5 separate regions of the Homo sapiens genome follow, and regions 2, 3, 4 and 5 are each linked to region 1. Evidence: promoter capture Hi-C in 16 types of primary human blood cells and fetal thymus (Javierre and others, 2016). All regions are on one chromosome and are shown on one strand. The core of a region is centred on a gene start or on the middle of the fragment in contact, and the rest is flanking DNA. Distances in the headings are between cores, read along the strand shown.

The links. The method cuts DNA at HindIII sites, captures the fragments that hold promoters and counts their contacts. A CHiCAGO score of 5 or more calls a contact.
Region 2: a contact is called between a fragment that was not itself captured here and the fragment with the promoter of NCOA5 in region 1, in 3 of 17 cell types (fetal thymus, neutrophils and total CD8 T cells). The highest score is 6.7, in fetal thymus.
Region 3: a contact is called between a fragment that was not itself captured here and the fragment with the promoter of NCOA5 in region 1, in 11 of 17 cell types (fetal thymus, total CD8 T cells, naive CD4 T cells and 8 more). The highest score is 10.4, in fetal thymus.
Region 4: a fragment that was not itself captured here is called in contact with the fragment with the promoter of NCOA5 in region 1 in 1 of 17 cell types (fetal thymus); the score reaches 5.2 in fetal thymus.
Region 5: a contact is called between a fragment that was not itself captured here and the fragment with the promoter of NCOA5 in region 1, in 4 of 17 cell types (fetal thymus, neutrophils, monocytes and 1 more). The highest score is 9.4, in fetal thymus.

Annotation. Positions count from the first base shown.
Region 1 is chr20:46,087,142-46,093,340 of GRCh38, reverse strand. It overlaps NCOA5 (nuclear receptor coactivator 5), which reads left to right and starts at 3,379. Exons shown (of 8, transcript NM_020967.3): 1 at 3,379-3,524. RefSeq lists enhancers at 3,216-3,265, 3,279-4,092, 3,946-4,155, 4,093-4,907 and a silencer at 3,426-3,775. The HindIII fragment of the contact is 2,710 bases long and covers 2,090-4,799 here.
Region 2 is chr20:46,398,680-46,404,878 of GRCh38, reverse strand. ELMO2 (engulfment and cell motility 2) reads left to right here. Exons shown (of 22, transcript NM_133171.5): 2 at 6,108-6,182. Among named protein-coding and RNA genes, the nearest start is that of ELMO2, 4.8 kb to the left of the region's middle. The HindIII fragment of the contact is 6,773 bases long and covers 343-6,199 here.
Region 3 is chr20:45,796,530-45,802,728 of GRCh38, reverse strand. DNTTIP1 (deoxynucleotidyltransferase terminal interacting protein 1) reads right to left here. Exons shown (of 13, transcript NM_052951.3): 5 at 1,587-1,655; 6 at 1,271-1,327; 7 at 672-730. Among named protein-coding and RNA genes, the nearest start is that of DNTTIP1, 7.7 kb to the right of the region's middle. The HindIII fragment of the contact is 279 bases long and covers 3,827-4,105 here.
Region 4 is chr20:45,812,619-45,818,817 of GRCh38, reverse strand. It overlaps UBE2C (ubiquitin conjugating enzyme E2 C), which reads right to left and starts at 6,174. Exons shown (of 6, transcript NM_007019.4): 1 at 6,022-6,174; 2 at 5,354-5,381; 3 at 4,348-4,434; 4 at 3,073-3,277; 5 at 2,905-2,964; 6 at 1,866-2,109. The coding sequence starts at 6,122. The coding sequence ends at 2,051. RefSeq lists an enhancer at 1-203 and a silencer at 6,182-6,199. The HindIII fragment of the contact is 4,695 bases long and covers 397-5,091 here.
Region 5 is chr20:46,359,180-46,362,972 of GRCh38, reverse strand. All of the region lies in intron 1 of SLC35H1 (solute carrier family 35 member H1), which reads left to right. Among named protein-coding and RNA genes, the nearest start is that of SLC35H1, 3.3 kb to the left of the region's middle. The HindIII fragment of the contact is 4,951 bases long and covers 1-3,793 here.

The sequences.
Region 1 (6,199 bases), core at 2,130-4,629:
TCAGTGAGTCTGGCCATGCCACATAATCTCTGTGGGACAAGCAAATTAACTGGCCTCAATTGTCTCATTTGTAAAATAGGAATATAGTACACATATTACAGTGTGTCCAGAATTGGTGGGTTCTTGGTCTCACTGACTTCAAGAATGAAGCCGCAGACCCTCATGGTGAGTGTTACAGTTCTTAAAGACGTCGTGTCCGGAGTTTGTTCCTTCTGATGTTCGCATGTGTTCGGAGTTTTTTCCTTCTGGGGGGTTCGTGGGCTCGCTGGCTCAGGAGTGAAGCTACAGGCCTTCCAGGTGAGTGTTACAGCTCTTAAGGTGGCACGTCTGGAGTTATTTGTTTCTCCCAGTGGGTTCGTGGTTTCAATGACTTCAGGAGTGAACCTGCAGACCTTCCCAGTGAGTGTTGCAGCTCATAAAAGCAGTGTGGACCCAAAAAGCAGTAGCAAGATTGATAGCAAAGAGCAGAACAACACAACTCCCACAGTGTGGAAGGCAACCCGAGCGGGATGCCACTGCTGGTTCAGGCAGCCTGCTTTTATTCGCTTATCTGGCCCCACCCACATCCTGCTGATTGGTCCATTTTACAGAGAGCCGATTGGTCTGTTTTACAGACAGCTGATTGGTCCGTTTTGACAGGGTGCTGATTGGGGCGTTTACAATCCCTGAGCTGGACACAAAAGTTCTCCACGTCCCCACTAGATTAGCTGGATACAGAGTGTCCATTGGTGTATTTACAAACCCTGAGCTAGACAGAGTGCTGATTGGTGCATTTACAAACCTTGAGCTAGATACAGAGTGCCAATTGGTGCATTCACAATCCCTTAGCTAGACATAAAGATTCTCCAAGTCCCCACTAGATACAGAGTGTGGATTGGTGCATCCACAAACCCTGAGCTAGACACAGGGTGCTGATTGGTGTGTTCACAAACCTTGAGCTAGACACAGAGTGCTGATTGGTGCACCCACAATCCCTTAGCTAGACACGAAGGTTCTCCAAGTCCCCACTAGACTCAGGAGCCCAGCTGGCCTCACTCAGTGGATCTTCCACTGGGCCGCAGGTGGAGCTGCCCGCCAGTCCCGCACCGTGCACCGGCACTCCTCAGCCCTTGGGCGGTCGATGGGACCAGGCACCTTGGAGCAGGGGGCTGCGCTCGTCAGGAAGGCTCAGGCCGCGCAGGAGCCCGAGGGAGGAGGGTTGGTGGGGCGGAGAGACTCGGGCATGGCTGGCTGCAGGTCCCGAGCCCTGCCCCACGGGGAGGCAGCTAAGGCCCGGTGAGAAATCGAGTGCAGCGCCGGTGGGCCAGCACTGCTGGGGGATCCGGCGCACCCTCCACAGCTGCTGGCCTGGGTGCTAAGTCTCTCACGCCTGGGGCCAGCAGGGCGGGCCGGCCGCTCCGAGTGTGGGGCCCGCCAGGCCCACGCCCACCTGGAACTCTAGCTGGCCCGCAAGCGCCGCGCGCAGCCCCGGTTCCCGCCCGTGCCTCTCCCTCCACACCTCCCCGAAAGCGGAGGGAGCCGGCTCCGGCCTCGGCCAGCCCAGAGAAGGACTTCCATGGTGCAGCGGCGGGCTGAAGGGCTCTTCAAGCGCGGCCAGAATGGGCGCCGAGGCCGAGGAGGCACCGAGAGTGAGCAAGGGCTGTGAGGGCTGCCAGCACGCTGTCACCTCTCAATAGGGTTGTGAGGATTAAATGAGATGATATGTGTAAAGGATTCAGCACATGGTAGGCACACAATAGATGTTACCTATTATGTAAAGCAAACATCTAAATAAGAAGTCACCAAGTCCTGAGCACCTGCCTCCCTACAAGAATCTTTCTTCATAAAATTAACTTGCTCCTCTATCAAAAATACTCATCAAACACTATATATTATCGTTTGTTTATTGCTCATATTCCCTAATAGGCCATGAGCTCCCTAAGCACAAGGATTTTGTCTACCTTACTCTCTACTCTCCACAAAATCAAGTGCATAAAAAACACTCATTAAACACTTAATACACAAGTCACTGAATACATCTTTTGGCTAAAGTCCACTACCCACTTGAGGTACTGCCACTCACCTCTAAACCAACATTTTTCCCTAAGCTTGGTTATCTTAATCATCTAATTAATATGATTCTTCTTAAATTTTCATAGTATTAGGATCTATATTGGAGGGAAAGGAATAAGAATGAACATTTGTTGGGTATCCATTATTTGACAGACTTTATGTCTTCATTTCTAATTTCATACAGTCTTATAAAGTGGGAATTGGAATAACCCACTTTGCCTGTGAGTAAACTAAAGTTCTAGTTACAACCATTGAGAATCCCTATTTCTTTCCATCACAGCGTTTATCTCAGTTTGCAATTACACACTCAAGTGTGATTATTCGTCTAATGCTTTCACCAGACTGTAATCTCAAAGATAGCAGAAAAGGGTCTGCATTTGCTCATAACAGCGCCTAACAAGCAGGCATATAATAAGTATAGGGCTACATAGTAGGTATGTAATAAACATTCAGTGAATAAATGAGTGGAGTGAGCATAGGGGTAGATGTCAAAGAAATCTGGCTTCTTGTAGTGTTTAAATTCCGCAGGCACCATTTTTTCTTAGTAGGCAATATTCGCAAGGAGAAGAACTAGACCCCATGGAGTCTGAGGCGTTTCCAACACTAATAAAAGAGTACCTGATTAATATAGCTATGGCTGTGATTAATAGAGTGCATTTACTATTGTGTGAGCAAATCCCATTCCCTGTGACAAATGTATTCTATACATGAAATGAACAGTACAACATTTTACAGGCTTCACGGTCAACAGTTACATTCCGGGAAATTTTTGACGTTGAACGAATATTCCAAGAATAAATAACTCAAGAAGAACCTGTGACTATATCTCCAGAAACCTTTTGCCGCTTGTCAGTGAAACTAATAGAGTACAGAGCCTATTTAAATGTAAATTTAAATACAACATTTTCTCCACCTTTCTGCTCTCTTTGTTCCTTGTGGTCCGGAGGTTACAGGACTATATATATTCTCCAATACACACGTGTATAGGGATTTGGGGTTTTTGCTTTCAGTTTTATGCAAGACTAAATCAAGGTATTTGGGGATTTGAATGTTCTGTTCCCACAGTTAGGGAGGAGGGAATGTGCTCTGAAAACAGAAAAAAAGTACTCTGGGGCGGGGGCTGAGGCGACCACCGTGGGGCCCATCCTCAGCCTAGGACGCTGTTGCTAGGCAACTCCCTGCGTTCTCAACTCCCGCCCGAGAGCCACTTCCCGGGCCCTCATTGCCAAGGAGATCGACGCCCCAACTCAGCCCTGCCGTAAACACGCGCGGTCTTGCGACAGTGCCGCGCCTGCCGCTACGTGCGCGCCCTCTGCCCCCATCTCCACTCTCCGCCCGGCCGCCATTGCCTCGTGCCCGCGCCGGTCGGTTGGTGGCGCCTTTGTCCTACGGCGGGCAGGTGGGCCGACGCGGAGGCGGCAGCGGCGGGCCTGAGGCGAAGGAGCGGCCGGGAGCCCGCCGCGCTGGTAGCGGTGAGTGCCGGGAAGCGCTGGCCGTCAGCCGAGGCGTGGGGCTGACGGGCAGGCCGTTGTGGGGGGCCTGGCCGGACGGGGAGGCTGAGGCGGGAAGGCCCACTCGACGCGCGGCCACGGTCTCGGCTCCTCTCCGGGTGCGCGCGGTGCTGCGCATGCCCGGTGCGGGGCGCGGCCGCCTCCGGCTCCCGTCAGGCCCAGGCCCGGCCGGCCGAGGCGGCCTACGGTTCTCTGTGGTGGACGCAGGTCGGCGGCGTCGCATCGCAGCCGCCTGTCTGTGCACGAACGGTCGGTCACTAGGAGTCCTCAAGGCTTCTCTGGTTGAGCCGCACATCCCGCACCCCCTGTCGAAACGGTGGAGTCGCTCGCCCGCGGGTCCTCAGCGAGTCAGTGGCGCAGTCGGGATTCGAACCGGGCCCAAGGCGTCCCGTGGCACCGGGCGTTCTCCAGGCGTGCAGCGCCGAGCGGTGTACTGAGCGCTGTCCCCCGCCACCGTCTCGCGGCCCCTGACCGCATTCTCGGGGTGTCTCCTTGTGGTGTGACACCCCACGCGTTTTGTAGGCGCGGACCTCGGGCCCAGAGAACGGGGAGAGGAACTGTTCCCGGGTTTACCACGTAGCTCAGCGCCAGCGTCCGATCCGGCCGGCTTTCCAAGCTCCCGGCGCGGGGCACTGTCCGCTCCCCGCCAGCGGGCGAGGGGCTTCTCTTAGGACGGCGTTGCACACGTTTCAGTCTCGCGTTGCACCTTTATGTCCGTGGACCATCTGTACTGCTATTTACCAAATGTTACATTTTTTAAAAAATTCAAACTGACTCTTTTTTTCTCCTTAAATATATTTAAGGCGGCAACTTCAATCACAAACCGGGTACTGGAAAGCCAGTTATTTTTCTAATGCTTATAAAAAAAATAAATATCTGTCTGTTGAAATAAACAGTGCGTCCTTGTTCCTCCTGAAATTATTCTGCGTTCCACACTTTGGGAAACGCTGCCCGAGGAGTAGCTGATTAATTGTGGTTCTTCTGGCTTGCACTCTGTGCACAGAATTTTTCCTGAGGCAAAGCAGATTCTATGAATGCCCTGGGCTCTTCAGGGATAATGTAACAGCTTTCTTGTAAACTGTTCTCTTTGTTGACTTAAAAGTGTTAGTCCCAGGGAACTGCAAGAACTGTGTTCACTCAGGTGCACCCGGTGTGCCTGAATTTTCTTACAGCGTTGTGATGTCGTAGCCCCCTGTTGGCTCATAAAAAGATGTTTCTACAAATGCTGGGGAAGCTTTTGTGAGTTTTGACAACTCTTAATTTAATGTTTTCTCTATGAGTCAGTCTGGGTGTGAAAACTAACTTTGTGTCTACTTTTTGCAACCAGTAAAGCCCATGCTTTGCATTGTGGATATTAGAAATCACTTGGCTATTTGTTAACATCCATTTCTTCCTTTATTGTGATTTCTTTGCCTTTCTTTGAGCTCATCTGTCACTCTTCAGATTGCCTTTGAAACCTCTGACACTTCTCTTAACCTAAAACTTAGAAACACTGATTTTCCTTGTAGAATGTCCCAGCGAATCCATATTGCAAGGCTCATTGGAAGGAGTTTTTCTAGATTCAGTTTGCTCAATGTTGCATACCTGTGAACACCACAAGTTTAAAGGAGGCATTGACAGATTAACTTACTTGTAAGTTAATAGTGTGTTCATAAGATCTGTTTATGTGAATGTAAGAGCAGATTTAATTTAAATCATTGACAGGAAAGTCCCATAAGTCAGTTCAGGCTTATTCAAGTTTTCTTCCCCTCCCCTCAAAGGCTGTGTAAAAAAATATATATATATGTATATGTATATATATGTGTGTGTGTGTATGTATCTCTCCCCCTGTTAAAAACATGTTTCTTTGGGGTTACCTTGGTATGATCACAATGTAGAATTTACGTAAGGCTAAGGTCATTTTCTTCACATTTCTGAGAATTTGATTTAAGCCCGGCGTCCGTTTCAGAACTTCAGCAAATGGAAACTCATCTACCAGTGCTTGAGAGCTAAGAAAAAACAACTTGTTTGTTTTGGTTTTGTTTTTGTTTTTTCTGAGACAGAGCTTCACTCTTGTTGCCCAGGCTGGAGTGCAGTGGTGCGATCTTGGCCCCCGGGTTCAAGCAATTCTCCTGCCTCAGTCTCCTAAGTAGCTGGGATTACAGGCGTGCGCCACCACGCCCGGCTAATTTTGTATATTTTTAGTGGAGACGGGGTTTCTCCATGTTGGTCAGGCTAGTCTCGAACTCCCAACCTCAGGTGATCTGCCCGCCTCTGCCTCCGAAAGTGCTGGGATTACAGGCATGAGCCACCGCGTCCAACCAGAATAAACAATTTTTGGAAAGACTTTCGTAGTCTGATGAGAAAAGATTTATTGGTTTGAAACTTCATTTTAAATAATCATTGCAAGCAGTCCATGTTTATGACCTGCAGATGGCAGTGCCTTTGTGTAATGTTTTACTACTGTGAGGATTAATAAAATTTAGTTGTGCTTTTAAGAATGGAAAATCTTCACAAGAAATATATTAAACTTTTTCTTCCCTTCAGTTTAGGTTGTTCTCTTGTTTTTGACTCCCCACGTGAAGAATGAAACGTCTATTCCTGAAGTCACTGTTACTCTTAGTGTAGTAATGATAATAACATACAGCCAGTAGTGC
Region 2 (6,199 bases), core at 2,480-4,979, 310 kb before region 1:
ATTTTAAATTTTCTAGTAGCCACATTAAAAAATGGAACAGCTGAAATTATTTTAGTAATATATTTAACACAATATATTCCAAAATTATATTATTATAACATAATCAATATTAAAACATTATTAATGGGATATTTTACGTTCTTGTTTTTTGTACTAAGTTTTTGAAACCTGGTTTGTATTTTACACAGAGGGCAGCCTGTGCCACTTTTCAAGTGCTTAGTAACCACCTATGGCCAGGGATTGTGGTATTGGGCTGTACAGTGTCACACACTTTGTATACCCTCTAGAGTCTTTTGAGATAACTGTTGTTATCTGCACTTTACTGATATCGATAGTGAAGCTTCTAAAAGAGGTTGCCTGCCGGGGATAATTCTAGAGTTTGTAAGTGGAGGAGGTGAGATTAGGACCTCTATCTGTTCATCTTCAGTCTGGTCTTTCTATATATCTGATGTGGACTCTAGGAGGTGCAAAGGAAGTTTGAGGGTACAGGAAGTCAGGACCAAACTTCTTTAAAAACTTCAGTGTACAGCATATTCTAGCTTGTTCTGTGCTCAGATAATGTGTCCAGATGTAGCAGTACCACCTGCCAAGGTGGCTCAGCAAGAAGCATATTTGATGCAGTTGAAGAAAACCCTGCAAGGCAAGTCCTTTGACCTGGTCACCATACCTCGGCCCAGCCTGGACTAAGTCTGGTCCCAGGACCTGGATAGAAAAAAACACATACCATGCAGCATCTCAGAGGTGCTGAGAATACTAGGCTTGAGTTTATAGCCTGGCTTTTCTATTTTTTTTTTGAGATGGAGTTTTACTCTTGTCGCCCAGGCTGGAGTGCAATGGTGCCATCTCGGCTAACTGCAACCTCCACCTCCCACGTTCAAGCGATTCTTGTGCCTCAGCCTCCTGAGTGGCTGGGATTACAGGTGCCTGCCACCGTGCCCGGCTGATTTTTGTATTTTTAGTAGAGACGGGGTTTCACCATGTTGGCCAGGCTGGTATTGAACTCCTGATCTCAAGTGACCCGCCCACCTCAGCCTCCCAAAGTTCTGAGATTACAGGCGTGAGCCACGGCGCCCGGCCTACAGCCCCAGTTCAGCAATTGCTCACTGAGTATCTACCACGTGACCAGCACTGTTGTAAGCCATTTTTGGTGATTGGGCGGTGTATGTCATAGCCTTCATCTTCAGGATGCTTCAGGTATACTTGGAAAGACAAGACTGGATCACATAAAATGACTAGATGGTATGCAAGGCATCATGAGGTGTAATGAAGAGCCAGAATCAGTATGGGCTGGAGGCTGCAAAGTGGCTGTCTTGGCCAAGCTGCATGATGTGTTTTTAAAAATGTTGGATTTAAACTCCTCTAGGCAAGGTGGTACTTTGCAGTGTTACAGACCCTACATGGAGGCTGCTTGTTTTATTTACTTACCTGCTTGGCTGCCCAAGACATTTGAATTTATAACCCTATTAGGCATGCTATGCTGGTTTCATGTGAGTCACTAGAAAATATTTGTTGAGCACTTCTTATTTGCCAGGCATTGTATTAGCTGCTGCTTTGGAACTGATCATAACATTTTCCAAAGTTCTTCCACTGGGAAATAGTAATAATAATAGTGGAACACCAACAAATGCTTTGCCTTTTGTATTGACTTTCCTCCCGGACTGCCTTCACATATGCTCTCTTATTTTGTCAACAATACACAACATACCTGCCTAGCAGGTAGGGCTTACTGTGTTGGGGAAACGTGGTTTCAGAGCTTTTGCAGTTTCTTCAGGTTCACACGGTTAGAATTCTGCTATTATGCTTAGTGCTTTATTATCCCACTTGATGCTCACAACAGCTTTACGGGGTAGAGTTGATGCTAATCCCCATTTTACAGGTAAGAAAATCGTTAGTGCTAAGATCCAAGTTCAGGCCTTTCCCACTCCAGAACACAGCTCCTAACTTGTTAAGCTACACTTCCTCACTAGAAGGCCAAAGTTGGAAGAAAGCTCAAAAACATCTAGTCCAGCCCCCGATGTAGATCAGGACCTGAGGTCCAGAAAGGCTTGTGTTTGTGGCAAAGCTGTGCTGCAGGAGGAGGACTAAACCAGAAGTGGGGGCCTAGGCCTTCTTTTGTCCCTAACTGGTGGCATGGCCTTGCCAGCTTCTCTGGACTTCAGTTCCCTTATTTATGTAATGAAAGGGCTTGGCCTGATTTTACACTGAGAACAATGCTGTGCTGTTATGGTCAGTATTGAAGGAGTTCACAGCCCGAGATTTTAGTTGTAACCCAGGACTCTTCCCAGCACACCACACTCCCTCCCTACCCAAGCTCCATCTCCTTGTGCAATCACGGTTTTCTAAAGTTTAATTCTGAAGTTCATCTGTATTTTCCATCTCAGTTTCTGTTTCCTCTCATTTCCAAAAACTGAGGTAAGTGGTTTGTAAACACTGACTTTTTGTAAATTCATCTCTTCAGTCATTGTGGTTAGGGATTTGGAAAGTTCTAGGCAATTAATAATCCTCAGTCAGTAGTGTTTTCACTCTCTTCTGAAGGCATTTAGGTCTGGAGGCACCCTGGAGGGAATTTTCCTGTGGAATTCTGTGGACACAGCTATGTGGCAGGCAGTGTGCTGCAAACTGGGGGAAGAGTAGATGGGGGAATAGACTTAGGCTTCATGAGTCCTTGCCCTCAGGTTGTCAACTCTCCTGGAGCTGTGGGTCAACCCTGAGCATCTGAGAGTTTATAAATGACCTGGGGTGTGTGTTGATGGTGCACAACCAGAGTTGAGAACCACTGTTTCTCGGACCTTATCTGATCTAGAGCCTATGTCCCAGACTTGAACATGCACTTGAACCACCTCAGGATCTTGTTTGAAGGCAGATTCTGATTGGGTGGGTCTGGGCTCCCAGGGATACTGCCGCTGCTGGTATGCACATCACACCTATCGTAGCCAGGGAAGAGACTGCACATAGAGAATTATAAATCAGTAGGATCAGGAAGGTATGTACAGAAGACTGGGATCACAGATGAGGCTGCAATTAATTTTCCCTGAGGTGAGAGGATTAGGAAAGCCACATAGAAGAGTGATTATCTTAGCTGGGCCTTGAAGGTTGAGTTGAAGTTTGCCAGCTGGACAAGGAAGAGGAAATAATAGCACAAGCAAACATACAGACTCAGAAGAGCATGGTTTTTCAGGGAACAGGTGGTCTGGTGAGAACATGGCATCTGCAAAAGCGAATCTGAAAGCCAGTTCCACCACAGAGCCACGGTGGAACTGGAGTAAGTTGAATGCTCTGCTAAGGAGCTTACTTAAGCACTATTCTTTAAGTATAGGAACACTACAGAAGGTGTCTGTGCAGGATAAGAGAAGACCCAGGCCATTCTTACAGCAGGAATCAAGATGAAGAAACCCAAATAGTTCCCCTGCCCCCACACCCCTTCTCACCACACCTTTGCCTCTATGTAAGTTTGTGGCTTTTTACCATGTGTGAATGAGTCCTGTGTCTAACATACTTCAACAAAAAGGGGAAACCTCAGCTGCTGTTGGTATGGTGGTCCTTCCCAGGGCTTCCAGCAGTAAACATAAGAACCTTAATCTCTGCCAGTCAAATCCTCCCTTTTCTGTACCTCAGAGTCTGATCGTCATTCAGTGGACTGAACTAAGGGAAGTTGAATCACTTCTCAGATGAGAAGATTTCAGAGGGGGAAGCCTTTATAGAGATTGTGTTCTCGATTAGAAAGGGCGTGACTCCAACTTGCCTTCTTGATGAGGTTGCATTCTGTTGCAGGAAACATAAACCAAACTTACCCATGCCTCCTTCACCAAATCAAAAGCCAAATAACTGAACAAAAAGTACACATCCGTTCTTATCCTGAAAGGAATAGGGGGAAGGAGGGGAGCTGGAAACCTGGCATTCTTCATCCCAAATTCCTTACTAATAGGAGGAGATCATCTTTCACTTCATTCCTTAAGATTCGGTTTCCAATCCTGCTCTCAGAATCCAGCTCCGTGAAGCAGCAGTCACTGCATGGGTGATTGATAAAGCTCCATGGGGCTTCTGTAACAGTGCTGATTTTATAAGCACACCTTCTAGAAGCCACTTAGAGACTGCTCCATTGGAGACACTAATGTTCCTATTTTTCTCTACTTTTCCCAGCTCTGTGTTTGAAAAACTGGCCTTTCATTCTTATGACTTATAGTAAAATTGTCATCAGGTCAGTGTGTGCCTGTCTCCTGTTTTGTAGCATTTTGAGTTTTCCAAATCATCCTTATATCTGTAATGCTTAAAGAGGAGTGGAAGGTAGAAGGGTGGGGAGTTGTTTAATCCGGAAGGGGCCCTCTGGGCCTGGATATGGAACTACAGCTCCCTTATGCTGGTGGTTTGCAATTGAGCTACAGTACTGCTGAGTGGCGGAGCAAGAGGCTATTTATAACCCTGAGAATTTTGCAATGTTACTGAATTCCTTTGACCTAATTTCTACTTCCTTTCTAGAATGAAAATGAAGGGAGTAAGCAAACACGTGCTGGAAGGGTTCCCTATAAGGAGATCCTTTATCCTGGGAATATTATCTGGAGAACAGAATTATTTCTAGTCTCCTATCTCCTGATGTTTCTTTTCGATAGGGAGAAAAGCAGAGGGAGGTTTTCCTCTTTCTTTCAACTAGAGTTAGGGGTGCTAACCCTGATTTTTCAGTAAGACTTATTCTAATGTTTGATATGAAAACAACAGTTTTTTATTTTATTTTTATTTTTTAATAGAGACAGGATCTCACTTTGTCACCCAGGCTAGAGTTCAGTGACATGATCATAGTTCACTGCAGCCTCGAACTCCTGGGCTCAAGCAACTCTCCTGCCTCAGCCTCCTGAGTAGCTAGGGACTACAGGCACACGCCACCATGCCCAGCTAATTTTTATTTTTTGTAGAGAAATGTCTCGAACTCCTGGCCTGAAGTGATCCTCCTGCCTTGACCTCCCAAAGCATTGGGATTACAGGTGTGAGCCACTGCGCCCAGCCAAAACAAACTGTTAAACAATGGAAATACTGTGTAGTTAGAGGGTATTGGGACGCAGAGGGAACACCAGACAGCCTGCACAGTTCATGCCTGTCCCTGTCTGTTTGGAGCCAGCCTGGTTCACAGGAGTGGAAGAAATCAGAGCCATTGGGTTTAAGCAGACACAGGTGCTTACTGAGCCTTCACTGGACACCAAGTGCTGTGCTAGGTTATGAGACTGCAGAGTTATACCTGTTCTGGAGGAGGAGCTAGTGGAGATGTGTAAATATGTAACTGTAATAGAGTATGACAAAATCGTACTCATTAACGGAAGTATGAACAGGATGCTGTGAGAACACAGAGGCCCCTGTCCTATTTACTTTTGCCAGGGAAAGTAGAGAAAGCTAAGACTAGTACAAGGAGGAGGTAACATCCGAACTAGGCTCTGATGCTTGAATAGGAGCTCTTCTGACAGTCAGTAGGAGGAAGAGAATGTGCAAAGGTACAGAAGAATTGAAAGAACATGGCCTGCCTTATAGAAATAGCCCGTAGTCCAGGATGGCTAGATTGTAAAGGACCAAATAGCACACGAGGGAGTGTGGCCCACCTGTAGACAGTGGAGAGCTGTCTTCTGTTACAATGGTGAGTTCTTGCTGTGAAGGTTTCTTAGCCTCAGTGTGCTTTGGTTTCAGATACACAAACCAGAAATCTCCACAAAGCACCTGCTGCGGGTCAGGTGCAGAGCCACCTGCTTTCTCATGGCTTTCCAGCAACACCAGACAACCTGGTATCAAATTCTGGCTGTGCCACTTGCTAGCTATGTGACACTGAGCCTTCTACTTAACTCCTCTGTGCCTCCATTTTCTTATCTCTAAGGTGGGGATAATAACATACCACACAGCATTGCTGTGTGGATTAAATGAATTAATATATGTAAAGCCCTTAAAATAGTGCCTTAGCATTATGTAATTGCTAGCTAATGTCATCATCTAAGGAAGTATTATATAGAGCGATGAGAACTCGCTTTGGAGTCCTAAGACCTAGGCTTGAGACCCAGTTCTGATGTGTTGGGTTGATTTAGTTTTATTTCTTTTCCCTCCCTTCATTTTTTTTCTTTCCTTCCTTCTTTTAGGAGGGAGGTGTAGAAAGAGGTACATGGAGAACAAGTTTGTCAATCCGTCTGAACTTCAGTTGCCTTACCTGTAAGGTAGGAATGTTTTTCAG
Region 3 (6,199 bases), core at 2,717-5,216, 290 kb after region 1:
TCACTATGCATTTGTCTAAGTTCATGTACAATACCAAGAGTGAACCCTCATGGAAACTATGCACTCTGAGGATCAAGACGAGTCAAAGTAGGCTCATCAAATGTAACAAATGTACCACTCTGGTGCCTGATGTCGATAATGGGGGAGGCTGTGCATGTGTAGGGTCAGGGAGTATACGGGATATGTCTGTACCTTCCTCTCAATTTTGCTGTGAACCTAAAACTGCTCTAAAAAAATTAAGTCTTAAAAAAATATATATTTGAAAATGACCGTCTTGGAGGCAATGTTAACGATATGACATTAGGCAAGTAATTCTCTGAGTCTGTTATCTGAAAAATTAATGATATCTTCTTTACAGGGTGGCTATAAAGATTAAAAGGTAAAGTATGTAACGTATTTAGACCAGTCATAAGCATCCAATATATACTAACAATGACAAACCTCTGGAGTTTAATCTTTCATCAAGCTGGGCCAAACCGTTCAGGGGGTAAAACAATTTCCTCCTCACTACCCTCCTTCCTCACCCCTCCAACCAGGATAACCCCCCTCCACGATGACTTAAGCTGATGGATCTGATTTTGACAGGCACAGAACCCTGGACTCTTTTCCTTCAGGGCCCCTCTCTCCGTCTGCTCCCCTATGCTCTCACCACACTGTTGGTCCCTACTCACACCATGCCGGCGGCTGCCCGGTCGCTTGACAGGATGTGTCCAGGAGGCCGTCCTTTCCTCTGCCACAAAAAACAGCTGTCAGAGGTCTGACCCTGTGGTTACTCCCCATACCCCATTGGCAGGTCCAGGGTCACTTGGCAGAGATGGTTTTCCAAAGAGATCAAATGATGTTTGACAGGGACAGGGAGAAAAACTGCCTCTCATGTCTAGGAAGGCTCAAAAGGGCTTTGAGGAAGCCCAGTACCTTGCGGAGTGAAGAGCCTTTTTTGAGAGACAGGGTCTTACTCTGTTACTCAGCCTGGAGTGCAGTGGCATGATCATAGCTCACTACAGCCTTGAACTCCTGGGCTCAGGTGATCCTCCCACTGCAGCCTCTCATGTAGCTAGGACGACAGAAATGTGCCAGCATGCCTGGCTAATTTTTTTTTTATTTTAGAGACAGGGTCTCACTATGTTACCCAGACTGGTCTCAAAACTCCTGAGCTCAAGTGATCCTCCCCGCTTGGCCTCCCAAAGTGTTGGGATTACAGGTGTGAGCCACCACACCCGGCCTGACAAGCCTTTTTTCAGCCAGAAAACAAAACAAGGAAATGGTTTACCTTTTTAGGAAGGGGGCTTCCTCGATGGGCACATTCTTCTTCTGCCTGACGGCCACGCTAAAAGAAAAGGGAAGGGAGTCAGTGGAAGGCCAGTGCCTGGGAGCTGCAGGTCTTCTGGAGTTGCAGAAGACAGCCCTGGACTACAGCTCTCCAGCCCCGCTCTGACCCAGGCCAAAGAAGCCCATCCAGCATGATGCTGTGTGGGCCTGGTCCTACAAATGGAAGTACATGGAACCTCCCTGGGCCCACATATTTCACTTGCCTCCCAGCCTGAAGGACCTCCCGCTCCAATACCCGAGAACACAGTGACTCTGACCTTTATTCCTGGAAGCTCATGGGTCAATCTGGGTATTACTTTTTCTCCATCTGAAAAGAGCAGTTTAGCCTGAAGGGAAAAAGACCAAGTGTTACCAGTCACTATTTTGGTGGGTAAGCACACCCTACCTACTTCCTTTTTTTTTTTTGGAGACAGAGTCTTGCTCTGTTGCTCAGGCTGGAGTGCAGCAGCACCATCTTGGCTCTCTGCAACCTCCATCTCCTGGGTTCAAGTGATTCTCATGCCTCAGCCTCCAAAGTAGCTGGGACTACAGGGGTGCGCCACCATACCCAGCTAATTTTTGTATTTTTGGAAGAGACGGGATTTCACCATGTTGGACAGGCTGGTCTTGAACTCCTGACCTCAAGTGATCGGCCCACTTCCAAATATATATATATATATATATATATATATATATATATATATATATATATATATATATATATATTTTTTTTTTTTTTTTAAATTGAGATGGAGTTTCACTCTTGTCGCCCAGGCTGGAGTGCAGTGGTGCTATCTCAGCTCACTGCAACCTCCGCCTCCTGGGTTCAAGCGATTCTCCTGCCTCAGCCTCCCAGGCAGCTGAGATTACAGGTGCCCACCACCATGCCCAGCTAATTTTTGTATTTTTATTAGAAACGGGGTTTCACCATGTTGGCCAGGCTGGTCTCGAACTCTTAACCTCAGGTGATCCACCTGCCTTGGCCTCCCAAAGTGCTGCGATTACAGGCATGAGCCACCACGCCCAGCCACACACATATATATATTTATATGCATAGAAATAGATATCTATTTTTAAAAAAACTTGAATTAATGATCATGGCTGGAAAAATTAAAAAATGTAAAAAAGCAAAATAAGAAAAACCTGGAATCTCATTACATAAACTACTATTAATGTTTCAATGTAAATTCTTCCTTGCTTTTCCCATGTAAATACATACTGTATGTTTTTTCAAACTAAATACATTAGTATAACACATACTCCTCAGTAAGCTGCTGTTTTTCTTTTTTCTTTTTTTTTTTGACATGGAATCTTGCTCTGTTGCCCAGACTGGAGTACAGTGGTGCGATCTCGGCTGTCTGCAATCTCCGCCTCCCAGGTTCAAGCAATTCTCCTGCCTCTGCCTCCTGAGTAGCTGGGATTACAGGCGTGCAACCACACCCAGCTAATTTTTTTTTTTTTTTTTTTTGGTATTTTTAGTAGAGATGGGGTTTTATCACGTTGGCTAGGCTAGTCTCACACTTCTGACCTCGTGATCTGCCCGCCTCAGCCTCCCAAAGTGTTGGGATTACAGGCGTGAGCCAGTGCGCCTGGCCTGCTGTTTTTCTTTTAATAAATACTGAGTACCTGGGACCTAAGTGCTGTGGACACAGCAGTAACTAGGACAAGCTCTTGTGGAGCTTATAGTTTGTGGGTGATCTGGATAATAAGCACAGAAACAAACAAGGTAACTGTGGATCATGATAGATGCTGTGAGAAAAAAAGAAAAAAACCCAGGCAGATGTGACAGAGAACCACCAGAGGGGAAGGGCTACTTTGCGGGAATGGCCAGGGAAGGCCTTGCTCAGAAGGTGGCCTCTGAGTTGAGATGTGAAGGAGGCTGTAAAAAAAGCTGGGCAGAAGTGTTTCAGCAGCAGGGAGGAGTGCAGAAGCTCAAAGGTGGGAACACCTGGCTCATTTGACAAAGAAAAGGATGGAATGGGCAGAGGGGAGATGGTGCAGCAGGTGGAGAATTGGGTTCACCCGACCTCTGCCAGTGGCATTTGACAGTGCTGAGGGCTCCCCCTTCTGGAAACACTCTTTTCTACAGGCTCCTGTGGCCACACTTCCTGTGTTCCTTCTACTTCTCTGGCCGTTCTTTCTTAGCCTTCTTTGCTGGCTTTTCCTTCTCAATCTGGTTCTTTTCCCTATCCTCTCTCATTACATATTCTATCTGCTCTCACCTATTCTCACAGCTTCAATTAACATCTATAAACCACGATTCCATAATTCAACTGTAGACAAAAGGTTATCCTCTGAGCTCTAGACTTATATACCAAATAGTCTGCCCCATGTCTATGCTTGGATGGCTCAAAGCTGCTAATCCATAATTGGATTCATGCTCTTCTCCTCCAAACTTTGTCCCTTTCCAGTGAAGGGTGATCAAGTCTCAATGTGTAATTATGCACACATTTGTTGGTAATCTAATTCACACCTGTCTGCTTAAGTAGGCTGTTAAGTTCTATTAGAGCAGGAAGCTTGTTTGTTCATTTATCATTTGTTTGTTCCTTCATTTACTCAATAATTCAGCAAACTCTGTACACATACTAAGAGTCATATTCCAGGGCTGGGAATACAGTGGTGAACAAGATTAGGCCTCAACTCTTGTAAAGCTCAAGATTTTAGCAGAGGTAGGAGTGCGAGGGGAAGACCTCTCTGATATTTAAACTAAGATCTGAAGAAAAGAAGGAGCCGGCTTTATAGAGTTAAGGGTAGAGTACCCCAGGTACTAAGAACAGCAAGTGAAATGGCCTAAGCTTGTGCTGGAGGAGCAGAAAGGAGTTCAGAACAGCCAGAGTATAGTCAATAAAAAAGAGGTGAGATGAAATGAAGTTAAAGAAGCAGGCAGAAGCCAGTCGAGGGTAGGCTCTGTGGGTCATGGTAAGGCATTTTTTTTTAAATTATACTTTAAGTTTTAGGGTACATGTGCACAACATGCAGGTTTGTTACATATGTATACATGTGCCTTGTTGGTGTGCTGCACCCAGTAACTCGTCATTTAACATTAGGTATATCTCCTAATGCTATCCCTCCCCCCTCCCCCAACCCCACGACAGGCCCCGGTGTCTGATGTTCCCTTTCCTGTGTCCATGTGTTCTCATTGTTCAATTCCCACCCATGAGTGAGAACATGCGGTGTTTGGTTTTTTGTCCTTGTGATAGTTTGCTGAGAATGATGGTTTCCAGCTTCATCCATGTCCCTAAAAAGGACATGAACTCATCACTTTTTATGGCTGCATAGTATTCCATGGTATATATGTGCCACATTTTCTTAATCCAGTCTATCATTGTTGGACATTTGGGTTGGTTCCAAGTCTTTGCTATTGTGAATAGTGCCACAATAAACATATGTGTGCATGTGTCTTTATAGCAGCATGATTTATATTCCTTTGGGTATATACCCAGTAATGGGATGGCTGGGTCAAATGGTATTTCTAGTTCTAGATCCCTGAGGAATCGCCACACTGACTTCCACAATGGTTGAACTAGTTTACGGTCCCACCAACAGTGTAAAAGTGTTCCTATTTCTCCACATCCTCTCCAGCACCTGTTGTTTCCTGACTTTTTAATGATCACCATTCTAACTGGTGTAAGATGGTATCTCATTGTGGTTTTGATTTGCATTTCTCTGATGGCCAGTGATGATGAGCATTTTTTCATGTGTCTTTTGGCTGCATAAATGTCTTCTTTTGAGGAGTGTCTGTTCATGTCCTTTGGCCACTTGTTGATGGGGTTGCTTGTTTTTTTCTTGTAAATTTGTTAGAGTTCATTGTAGATTCTGGGTATTAGCCCTTTGTCAGATGAGTAGATTGCAAAAATTTTCTCCCATTCTGTAGGTTGCCTGTTCACTCTGATGGTCATTTCTTTTGCTGTGCAGAAGCTCTTTAGTTTAATTAGATCCCATTTGTCAATTTTGGCTTTTGTTGCCATTCCTTTTGGTGTTTTAGTCATGAAGTCCTTGCCCATGCCTATGTCCTGAATGGTATTGCCTAGGTTTTCTTCTAGGGTTTTTATGGTTTTAGGTCTAACATTTAAGTCTTTAATCCATCTTGAATTAATTTTTGTATAAGGTGTAAGGAAGGGATCCAGTTTCGGCTTTCTACATATGGCTAGCCAGTTTTCCCAGCAGGATCATGGTAAGGCATTAAGACTTTATTCTCCCTGCAACAGGAAAGTCACTGAAGGGTTTTTAAAATGGGGAGTGACATGATCTAATTCATCTTTACGGAGATCAGTCTGGCTGCTGTGAGAAGAGTGGATTGGAACTGGGTAACGGTGAATGTAACTCTGGACTGAGATATAAATGTGTGAATTATGAGCGGCTGAATTGGCTTCCAAGCCACAGGACTAGATGAAAACACCTATGAAAACAGTGAGCCATGAAAGAGAAGGGGTTTGAGGACTGAACTTGGGAAGGCACCAACAGTTAGAGGCGGGGGGTGAGAGAGAAGAGTAGGCAATGAGGTTGGAGCAAAGTCAAGGCACTCTAGCCAACAGAGGAGCATTCCAAGAAACGCGAAATGATCCATTGTGACAGATGTCACTGAGAAGCTGAGTAAGTTGAGGACAGTTAGGGACCAGAGGGTTTGACAACACGGAAGTTACTAGCGACCCCGACAAGAGGGGTTCCAGTGAAGTAGTGGGGACTGAAGCGAAAACAAAGTGAAGAGAATGAATAGGAGGTGAGAAAGTGAGCCAGCGACTATTGGCGACCTTTCCTGATGTCTCCCTATAAAATGGTGATGGCAACAATTCCTCCTAATAACAGCAGCTGACACATGTAAACAGGTTCTCTACTATCTTGGGAACAGTCATTTATAGACCTGATGTCATGCTTCCTGACCACACCAGAG
Region 4 (6,199 bases), core at 1,495-3,994, 270 kb after region 1:
TAGTTTATCGAACTGGGATGGCAAAGCATGAACTGGAGGCCAGAGTCTCAGTTAATGTCATCTCTCCGACTCCCAGCTGTTTGTCTCTACTTGGCTTTCTTCCGTCTGCAGCGGGCTCCCCCAGCAGCTGAGACTGACTCCCTTCTCTTTTAGCAACCCCATTAGTAAAATAACTTTACTCTCTCCCAGTGATTAATTCCAGACAACACCAGTTGAATCTGAACTACAGTTTAGACCTGTGACTGGCCCAAGGCAGGCCATGTGGCCATCTAAGGTACCAAACACCGTGACCAAGGACCACATGGCAGATGAAAACACATCCACCACAGTTAGTATTCGAAACATTTCTTTTAGAGATAAGGTCTTACTCTGCTGCCTAGGCTGGAGTGATAAGCTTACTATAACCTTGAATTTCTGGCCCCAAGTGATCCTCCCACCTTGGCCTCCCAAGATGTTGAGATTGCTGATGTGAACCACCAGGCCCGGCCAAGATTTATTTATTTTTCTTTTAAAATTTATTATTTGAGATGGGGGTCTCACTGTGTTGCCCAGACTGGTCTTGAATTCTTAAGTTCAAGCAATCAATCCTCCTGCCTCCGCCTCCCAGAGTGCTAGGATTACAGGGAGTGAGCCACCACACCCGGCCCTGGCCAGCATATATTGACTAATTTAGTGCCAGGTTCTGAGCTCTGGTTTTCTCCAGTATCCGCTAACCTAGTGATTTTCAACCGTGGGAGACCTTCAGAACCTGGAGGGCAGTTTGGGGTCAAGAATTTGCCTAACAAGTTCCGGGTGATGCTGCTGCTGCTGGAAGGACCACATTCTAAGAACATTGCTCTAAATTTTGTTCTTAAGCAGACCGCAGCAATGACATCACTTGGAAACTATTTAGAAACCAAAATAAATAAACAGACTGGATCTTAGGCTCCACTTCACACCTACAGAAAAGAATTTAACAAGATCCCAAGTGTATTTGTATGAATGTTAGATTAAGAAAAAACCCAAGAGGAGAGACCTAAGAGCACAATTATAGACATGAAGGGACCCAACTTCCAATCCCAAACCCCTCCCGCTTCAGGCTTGCACAACCAACCAGCTGCTAACAGACCTGAAGGAGTTGGGTGCAAGGTTGGAGCACATCTGGATGCTGCTTATCTACCTTGGAGATCTTCCTGAAGGGCTTTGTGGGGGCCCTATCACTTCAACCTACTCTTCCACCTGCCGACCCTTGTGGGGACCCAGCTGGTCAGCAGGGGTGTTTCCTCCTAGGGGCTCAAAGACTGGAGCCTTCATCAGGCCAGGGGAAAGAGGCAGCCCAAGGGGCTGGGGGCTCCCTGGGGGATATGCAGCAGGAGGCGACTGTGCCCCCTTGGAGGTGGAGCTCCACCGGGGACCTGGGCTAGAGCCTGGAGACCAGAGCTCAGACCTGAGTCCTGCCAGGGAAGGGGCTTTTTTCCTGGCTGTCTCCCCAGGCCCTGGACCTGCTTAGGGTGACCTAAGCATTCTTCTTCAGGACAGAACATGGGTGGCTGTGTGTTGGGATCCCCCCCCCAACACACACGCTTGTTCCTTCTACAGCTATAGGAGTAGGTTTCAGCCTAAGGTCTGGCTCAGCCTCATCTGCAACACAGCTGAGGGAGCTCCAACATTCACTAACATTGCTGGTACACATCACCGACTCCATAGACAGGAGGCATTATTGTGACACTCATTTTATAGATGAAGAAACAGATGCAGAGTCATAAAATAAGGTACAAGGGAATAAATCTTTGTCACCCCATTGCTTGGCCCCACATCCTTAAGTTCCACCTCTGCCTACCCTGAGTACCTCCAACCCTAGTGAAATTACAACGCAACAACTTGTCTAAAAAAGGACAAAAATGCATTTATTTAATATACAAGGGCTCAACCGAGGCTTAATTTAAAAGACAAAAACAAAACAAAAATACCACAGCTCAAGATAAAGAGTCCTATACAGAAATCACAAAAAGGACAGACCATCTAAGGAAAAATTAAAAAGACGACACAAGGACAGGCTGGGCAGCCTGGGTCAGGGCTCCTGGCTGGTGACCTGCTTTGAGTAGGTTTCTTGCAGGTACTTCTTAAAAGCTGGAAGAGAACAGGCAGGTCTCAGTGAGTGATGGAGACAGGATGAGTTAATCTTTACTATTTATTATTTTTGAGATGGAGTCTCACTCTGTTGACCAAGCTGGAGTGCAATAGCATGATGTCTGCTCACTGCAACCTCTGCTTCCTAGATTCAAGTGATTCTCTTGCCTCAGCCTCCTGAGTAGCTGGGACTACAGGTGCCTACCACCATACCCGGTTAATTTTTTTTGTATTTAGTAGAGACGGGGTTTCACCATGTTGGCCAGGCTGGTCTCAAACTCCTGACCTCATGTGATCCACCCACCTCGGCCTCCCCAAGTGCTAGGATTACAGGCATGAGCCACTGTGCCTGGCCCAGGATGAATTAAGGTGGGCAAGAGGCAGCTGGACCAGGGATGCAAAGGTCGGAGGAGGTGGAGGAGGGGCTGGTTTCCCAGCCCGGCATTCTCCCTGCACTGCCCATCTAGGCAGCTCTCCTGGAAGGGCTTGCTTCCAGTGAGACTGGAGGGCACAGGCAAGGCACTCTACTGAATTCCTGGCCTCAAGCTATCCTCCTGCCTTGGTCTCACCAATAATTTCCCAAAATTATTTATCGCCAAACATTTTTATTCTGCTATAAAACAATTGCTATTTTATAGCAAATAGGAGCACTGGGGCAGAAACAGAAGTGGGTTGCTGCCGACACTCCACCCTGCCCCAACCAACCCGGTCCCAAGTCACTGGGCTCCTTTTGTTTGAGGGAGCCTTTGAAGGTTGGGGGAGGGATCACCCTGGGCTCAAGGACTGAGGACTCACCTGTGGGGTTTTTCCAGAGCTCGGCAGCATGTGTGTTCAAGGGACTATCAATGTTGGGTTCTGTGGGTGGAGAGAAAGAGAAGGTCAAGGCGGTAGAAGAGGCTGACCCCAGGGAGTCCTGACAGGTTCCCAAGTTGCATGGAGGGGAGGGGTGGTCTCTAAAGTCACCTCCTAGAAGGCTCTGGATGGAGAGCAGAATGGTCCTGACATCATACAGGGCAGACCACTTTTCCTTCAGGATGTCCAGGCATATGTTACCCTGGGTGTCCACGTTGGGGTGATAGCAGGGCGTGAGGAACTTCACTGTGGGCGCATTGTAAGGGTAGCCACTGGGGAACTCTAGCGAGAGCTTATACCTCAGGTCTTCATATACCTGGCATTTGGAGAAACAGTTGCAGAGTAAGCTCCAGCAGCAGCCTCATGTCCCAACCCAAGCCCCACACAAGGGGCTTGCTAGAATCTTGAGTTTCTCTGGGACCGGACAGTAGACAAACTGTTGAGCTGGTTCTGATGCTCCCCACTGCCTTTTTAAAAAGTTTTTTTAGTTTAGTTTTTATTTTAGAGACAGGGTTTCACCATGTTGCCCAGGCCAGTCTCAAACTCCTGGGCTCATGTGATCTGCCTGCCTCAGCCTCCCAAAGTGCTGAGATTACAGGTGTGAGCCACTATGCCTAGCCTGATGCTTTCCTCTTATCTGGTGGAGACATCAGTGACTCTTTGGTCTAAGGATTGTAAATTGGCATCCTGTGCTTTAGTTCAATTAGAATATTAGTTGCTGGCCGGGCGTGGTGGCTCACGCCTGTAATCCCAGCACTTTGGGAGGCCGAGGCGGGTGGATCTTGAGGTCAGGAGATCGAGACCATCCTGGCTAACAAGGTGAAACCCCGTCTCTACTAAAAATACAAAAAATTAGCCGGGCGTGGTGGCGGGCGCCTGTAGTCCCAGCTACTCGGAGGCTGAGGCAGGAGAATGGCGTGAACCCGGGAAGCGGAGCTTGCAGTGAGCCGAGATTGCGCCACTGCAGTCCGCAGTCTGGCCTGGGCGACAGAGCGAGACTCCGTCTCAAAAAAAAAAAAAAAAGAATATTAGTTGCTAATACGTAAAAATTAGATTTGGCACAGATTTGGACTTCTGACTCATCTTAAACCTGATCTGCAGCAATGGGAAGCTGCCTTCTTGAGATCTGGCCCTATTGGCCAAAGTCCTCACTTCATCCATTTCCTTGCTGTCTGTCCCCCCATGTAAACATCTAAGATAGGCAGCCCTGCTTTAAACCCACCCTTTATTGCACAGAGGGAAAGAACAAGGCCACATGGCTCAGAGAATGTAAACAGTCACAGGAGGAGTGTCTTGCTCCGCCAAAGGCTTGAAGCAGAGCTCGCACTTGGATCTCACTTCCCACCTTTCCCCAGACTCACTCACCCATCCCAGCCCTACACTTACTGTTCCAGCTGCTCCATGGATGGTCCCTACCCATTTGAAAAGGTTGTCTGATTCAGGGAAGGCAGAAATCCCTTTATCGCCAGACATCTGGGGAGAAAACACATTTGTTGGAATGTGGAGTACACTTTTGGGCATAGCAAAGGTCAGTGGGTGAGCTTTCCCCTTAATTTTATATATATATATATATATATATATATATGCTCACATACACACACACACATATATATGTATACACACACACATATATATGTGTATATATATGAGATATAGATGGGGTTATGCCATCTCTACTAAAAAATATATATTTACATATATATATATATAGAGAGAGAGAGAGAGAGATTGAGAGAGAGAGATAGACAGAGACAGACACACACACACACTCTGTCGCCCAGGCTAGAGTGCAGTGGTGCGCTCGGCTCACCGCAACCTCTGTCTCCACGGTTCAAATGATTCTTGTGCCTCAGCCTCCCGAGTAGCTGAAATTACAGGCATGCACCACCATGCCTGGATAATTTTTGTATTTTTAGTAGAGACAGGGTTTTGCAATGTTGGCCAGGCTGGTCTCGAACTCCTGACCTCAAGTGATCCGCCCACCTTAGCCCCCCAAAGTGTTGGGATTATAAGGTGTGAGCTACCGCGCCCAGCCTCCCCTTAATCTCATCACTCTGATCCAAAATAAAGCAACCAAATTCATAGGCTAGAAATACCAAGAAGGGCGGGGAGTTGGGTGTGGGTAAAGCTTGGTTGGGGCTAGGAAGTAGGGACACACTGGATAGGGAGGGTCTTGTATGACTTCAGGGAAGTGTTCGAGATAACTTCGTGTGGGGGGATGGAATTGGGAGGAGGGACTGCTGGAAGAAATGGTGTAGGTGGGGTGTATGAACTTCTTTCCCAGGAGGGAGCAAATTACATTACCCCTATGTCTAGCAAAAAAGCTGACGGAAAAAAGGAGGCTACTGAAAATTGGATGGAAGGCTGGGGTTCTGGGCACTTAATCACTCACCATGAGGGTCATCAGCTCCTGCTGTAGCCTGAAAAAAGAGTATTCGGGGTTACCTGGGAGTCTGGATGGGCCAGGCCTCCAGACGGTGCATCTTCTCCCACCTGAATCTCAGGGGGAGCCGTCATGGAGGCTCCCCACATCACCAAGGTCAGGCTCAGCTCAGGGTATACTCACCAGATCCACAGGACGATCCTAGCGAGTCCTCACCCTCCCTAATTCCAGACTCCCTCGGGATGATTCTGGCATGTTCTTAATTCCCCAGGCTTTAGCATCTCTTCCTTGCCCGACTCAACTTCTCCCTTCCCCTGTCTCGGCCAAGTCACGAGGGTCCTTGAGCGTCTTCATCTAGGCCCACCAGGGAAGGAGTCTGGCAGCGCCCCTACCCTCCCATTCTCCTTCGGGAGAGTCTCAAAGAGCGGTCTGAGCTCCTGGCCTGTCCCCCATCTCTCGAATCTCACCCGCGCAAGGAGGTGGGAGTCCCGGAAGTCTCCGCCCTCGACACCCATGCCCAGGGGAATGCCAGGCCCCGAGCTCCTGGTGTGTTCTCCTGCACCCGCAGATCTCCCGCTCCAGGAGGTGGCGGCGGGGGGTGGTCCTAGAAATCTTTGCTCTGGGTACCAATGCCTAGGGCATGGCAGGCCCGGCGAGTGGTAGGCCGCATCACTCACCTTTTGCCCACCGGACCCCGGGCGGCGCCCCCGCTCGGCTCAGCTCCTTTACGGGCGGCGGCGACGCTAGTGGCGGCTGGGTCGCGGTTTTGGGAAGCCATCCGGGCGGCGTTGGCAGAGAGACAGGAACTCGGAGAACACGACTGCAACTGCAGGACTGCGGGCCCGCCCGCCCGCG
Region 5 (3,793 bases), core at 956-3,455, 270 kb before region 1:
CCAACATGGAGAAACCCTGTCTCCACTAAAAATACAAAATTAGCCGGGCATGGTGGCACATGCCTGTATTCCCAGCTCCTCGGGAGCCTGAGGCGGGAGAATCACTTGAACCCGTGAGGCGGAGTTTGCGGTGAGCCGAGATCACGCCATTGCACTCCAGCCTTGAAACTCCATCTCAAAACAACAACAACAACAAAAAGAATAGAGACTAAGCCTTCGAAGGGGCAGCAGGGAGGAGGGTGTGGTGACTCATTGGAGCAGTGGAGATGGGCTGAAGTGAGAGCAGGGGGTGAAGGAGTTGGACTGGCAGTGCGGGGTCCTCTGGGGAAGTTTCACTGTTAAGGGGACCAGGAGGGGAGTAAGCCTCTACCATGAGCCAGCATTTAATGCTGTACCTGATGCCACTTTACAGTTGGAGAAACTGAGTCCAGAGGTCAAGTAACTTAGGGTCACACAGTAGTGAGTAGGGACACCAGGATTTGATTCTCAGTGTCTAACTCCAAAGCCCACACTCTTAAGCACTAAACCATGCTGCCCAAGTTACAGTTAGGAAGATGGAGGGAAGCAGGTGTGCCAGTGATGCACCAGCCAGCCTTACCTTGATGTGACTGCTGCCCCCAGCTAAGCTGCTCTCTGTGGAAAGTGGGGCAGAATATGGACTTTCCTTCCTGAGCAAATGAGATTTCAAAAAGAGTTGTTTACTCCTTTAAATCTTGTTTCCCTTATAAAATAAGGGTGGGGACCTTTTCAGTTTCACGTCTGTGTCTCCAGTGGTGGGCCTACAGGAGTGCTTGATAAATGCTCATTAAGTGCCTAGATGATCTCCAGGGACCCTTCTAGCTGAGATTTGGCTTTGTGTTTGGGCATAGGTGACCTTCTGAATCCCAATAAGAAAATAAGTTAAATTTGAGACAGTGCTTCTTGTAGGCGGGGTAGCCATAGGGACTTATTGGAGGCAGGGGAACTGGGCCAGGTCTGTGAAGGAAGGTCAGCATTTGAACAGTGGAGGGAGGGTGTTGCGGTGTTGCAGTGCTGCAGCAGGAAATGCAGCAAAAGCAGGAGCTGCAAGAAGTTGGTTAACAGAAGAGTGAACAGACTTCCCTGGCTTGGAAGCCACAGGAGGAGCCATGAGGGAAGAGTGCTCAGAAGAAAGCTCTGTTAGTGCCAGCATGTCCTGTGAGTGCCTGTCACAGGACAGGGTCAGCAGTGGTTCTCAACAGGGAGCAGGTTTGATCCTCAGGTGACATATGGCAGTGTCTAGAGACATTTCTTGGGTATCACAACTTGGGATGGGGGGAAGGATGTGACAGGTGTCTGGTGGGTATGGGCCAGGGATGTTGCTAAACATCCTGCCATGTAGAGGATGGGTCTTCTCACAAAGAATTATCTGTCCCCAAACAGCAGTAACGCCCAGGTTGAGAAACCCTGGCGTAGAGGAAACAGTGTGGGTTTTGAGATCTGTAGACGTATGTTTGAGGCCCATGCGCCCTCTTTGTTGGAGGAGCCTGATGGTGGTGGTTGCAGGAGAAGTAGAGAGAACCGTGTAGGAGACTCCTGCAGTCATTTGGGGAGAGGATGGTGGCTGAGATGGTAGTGGTGGAGTTCAGGACATGTGCTCATATTTGGGATATTTCTGAAGATAGAGCTGACGGTATTTATTGATTGAATGTGGGCTAAGGGGAAGAGAGGAATCAGATGAGCCTAAGGCTTTTGGCCTGAGCAACTAGGAGAGTAGTGGAGCCATTTGCTGGGATGGGAAGTAGGAAGAGGAGCAGGCTTGGATGAAATGGGGGTGTGGAAAACACGAGTCAGTTTCAGACACTCTAGATGTGAGTGAGATGCCTGATATTAGATATCTAAGGGAAGAAGAGGTTAGGTAGGCATTGGATATTCTTCTGGAGTTCACATGAATCAGAGCCGGGGCATATATTGGGAAGACATCAGCTTACAGAAGGCATTTGAAGGAATGAGAATGCATTAGGTCAGGTAGGAGTCTCAACTCATTGGATCTGACACCTCTTTTTTATTACAAATATTTTGTAACAGTCCCTTTTATTACCCTAAAATGAAACATATGATTAATAAAAACTGCCTACACATAATTTTTTAAAAATCAACAAATGCAGCCGGGCGCGGTGGCTCACGCCTGTAATCCCAGCACTTTGGGAGGCAAGGCGGGCGGATCACCTGAGGTTGGGAGTTCAAGACCAGCCTGACCAACATGGAGAAACCCCATCTCTACTAAAAATATAAAAAATTAGCCGGGTGTGGTGGTGCATGCCTGTAATCAGTCCCAGCTACTAGGGAGCCTGAGGCAGGAGAATCGCTTGAACCTGGGAGGCGGAGCTTGTGGTGAGCCGAGATTATACCATTGCACTCCAGCCTGGGCAACAGGAGCGAAACTTCGTCTCAAAAAAAAAATAAAATAAAATATAAATAACCATGCCCTATAACATAAAAGGAAAGTAATTGATAGTAAAACAAAATATGTTTCAATATGTAAGTTTCTGGGCACAATAGTGCTGGAAGTTGCAGTGAAGCTGTCCCTTCTGTGTGGACCCTCTAGGAGTGTGATGGCCACAGACACAGACTGACACAGCCGTGTTGTGTCGCACCTCGAAAACCACTAGTGCCATTGCTGTAGATGATGTGGTTTTTCCAGAATGGACACTTTTGGTGCCATTTTGAGACCAATTTTGACCATTTTCAGTCTCCCTTCATTGTACATAGGCGTCTTATTCTTGGAAGTGTTAGTTCACAGCAGAACCATGGAAACACTGCACTGTGTTTACATGTAAACAGAGTTACATTCTAGGTTCAGATAATTATAAGCTAATCTTTCACCTATATGGATGTCAAAGTCGTGCGGGATGCAGAGCAGTAATTGGCTATGTGGACTGCCCCTTCTTTATCCCTGCTTACTGAACGCCAGGAGCATATCCCCAAAATACCGCCACAGGTTTCCAAAGCTCCTCTGAAGACAACTGTAGCCCCAGAGATTCATTTGGACACAGCCAGCTCCCTGTTTGCCCCGGGGAGGGGAAATAGTAACAAGAGTTCCAGAGTGCAGAATGGAATGTAACTGCTCCCTTCAGAAATGTTGGGGTGGGAGATGGAGAATGTGTCTGATCGTGAAGCCTAGGAAGGCTTCGAGAAGAAGGTGGCGTTTCAATAGGATGGGAATGTCTCAAAGGAGGATCTGTGGTTGAGGGGGGCACCCAGATGAAGCAGCAGGTATCATCACATAACACTGGACCTGAGGCTCCTCCAGGCACAGACAGGTCTACCCGGCATGCTCCGGGCACTCATCAGGGTTGGCTGGATTGACAGGGAGGCTGGGAGTGGTTTCATTTGGCAATACCGTAAGGCAGGCTCTGCTTCCAGGGAGTAGTGGTTACAGCCTGGTCTTACAGTGTTCCAGCCGTTAGAGTGTTGGTTTCCTTCTCCATTTTTAACCCCTAAAGACCAGACCAGTCCCCTGAAAATCGCATGCCTGCTCTCTGTCAGTCATCAAACCAGACGGAGAACTTAAAGTACACCAGCTGTGCGTAAGGCCAGTGTGGTCTTACTGGTCCCTATCTTTGTGCCGCTCGTAGCCTCTCAGGGGACAGACATTACTCAAATCACACCCTGCACAAGTGCTATGAAAGAGAAGTAGGAGAGCCGTGAAAGCAACATGTATCTCAGGGGACTGATTCAGGGGATGGGGTGGGGTTCCCTGAAGAAGTGACCTCTGAGCTGAAGATAGGTAGGATTGATGAAGGACTGAAGGGTGGGTGCAGTGTTCGTTCAT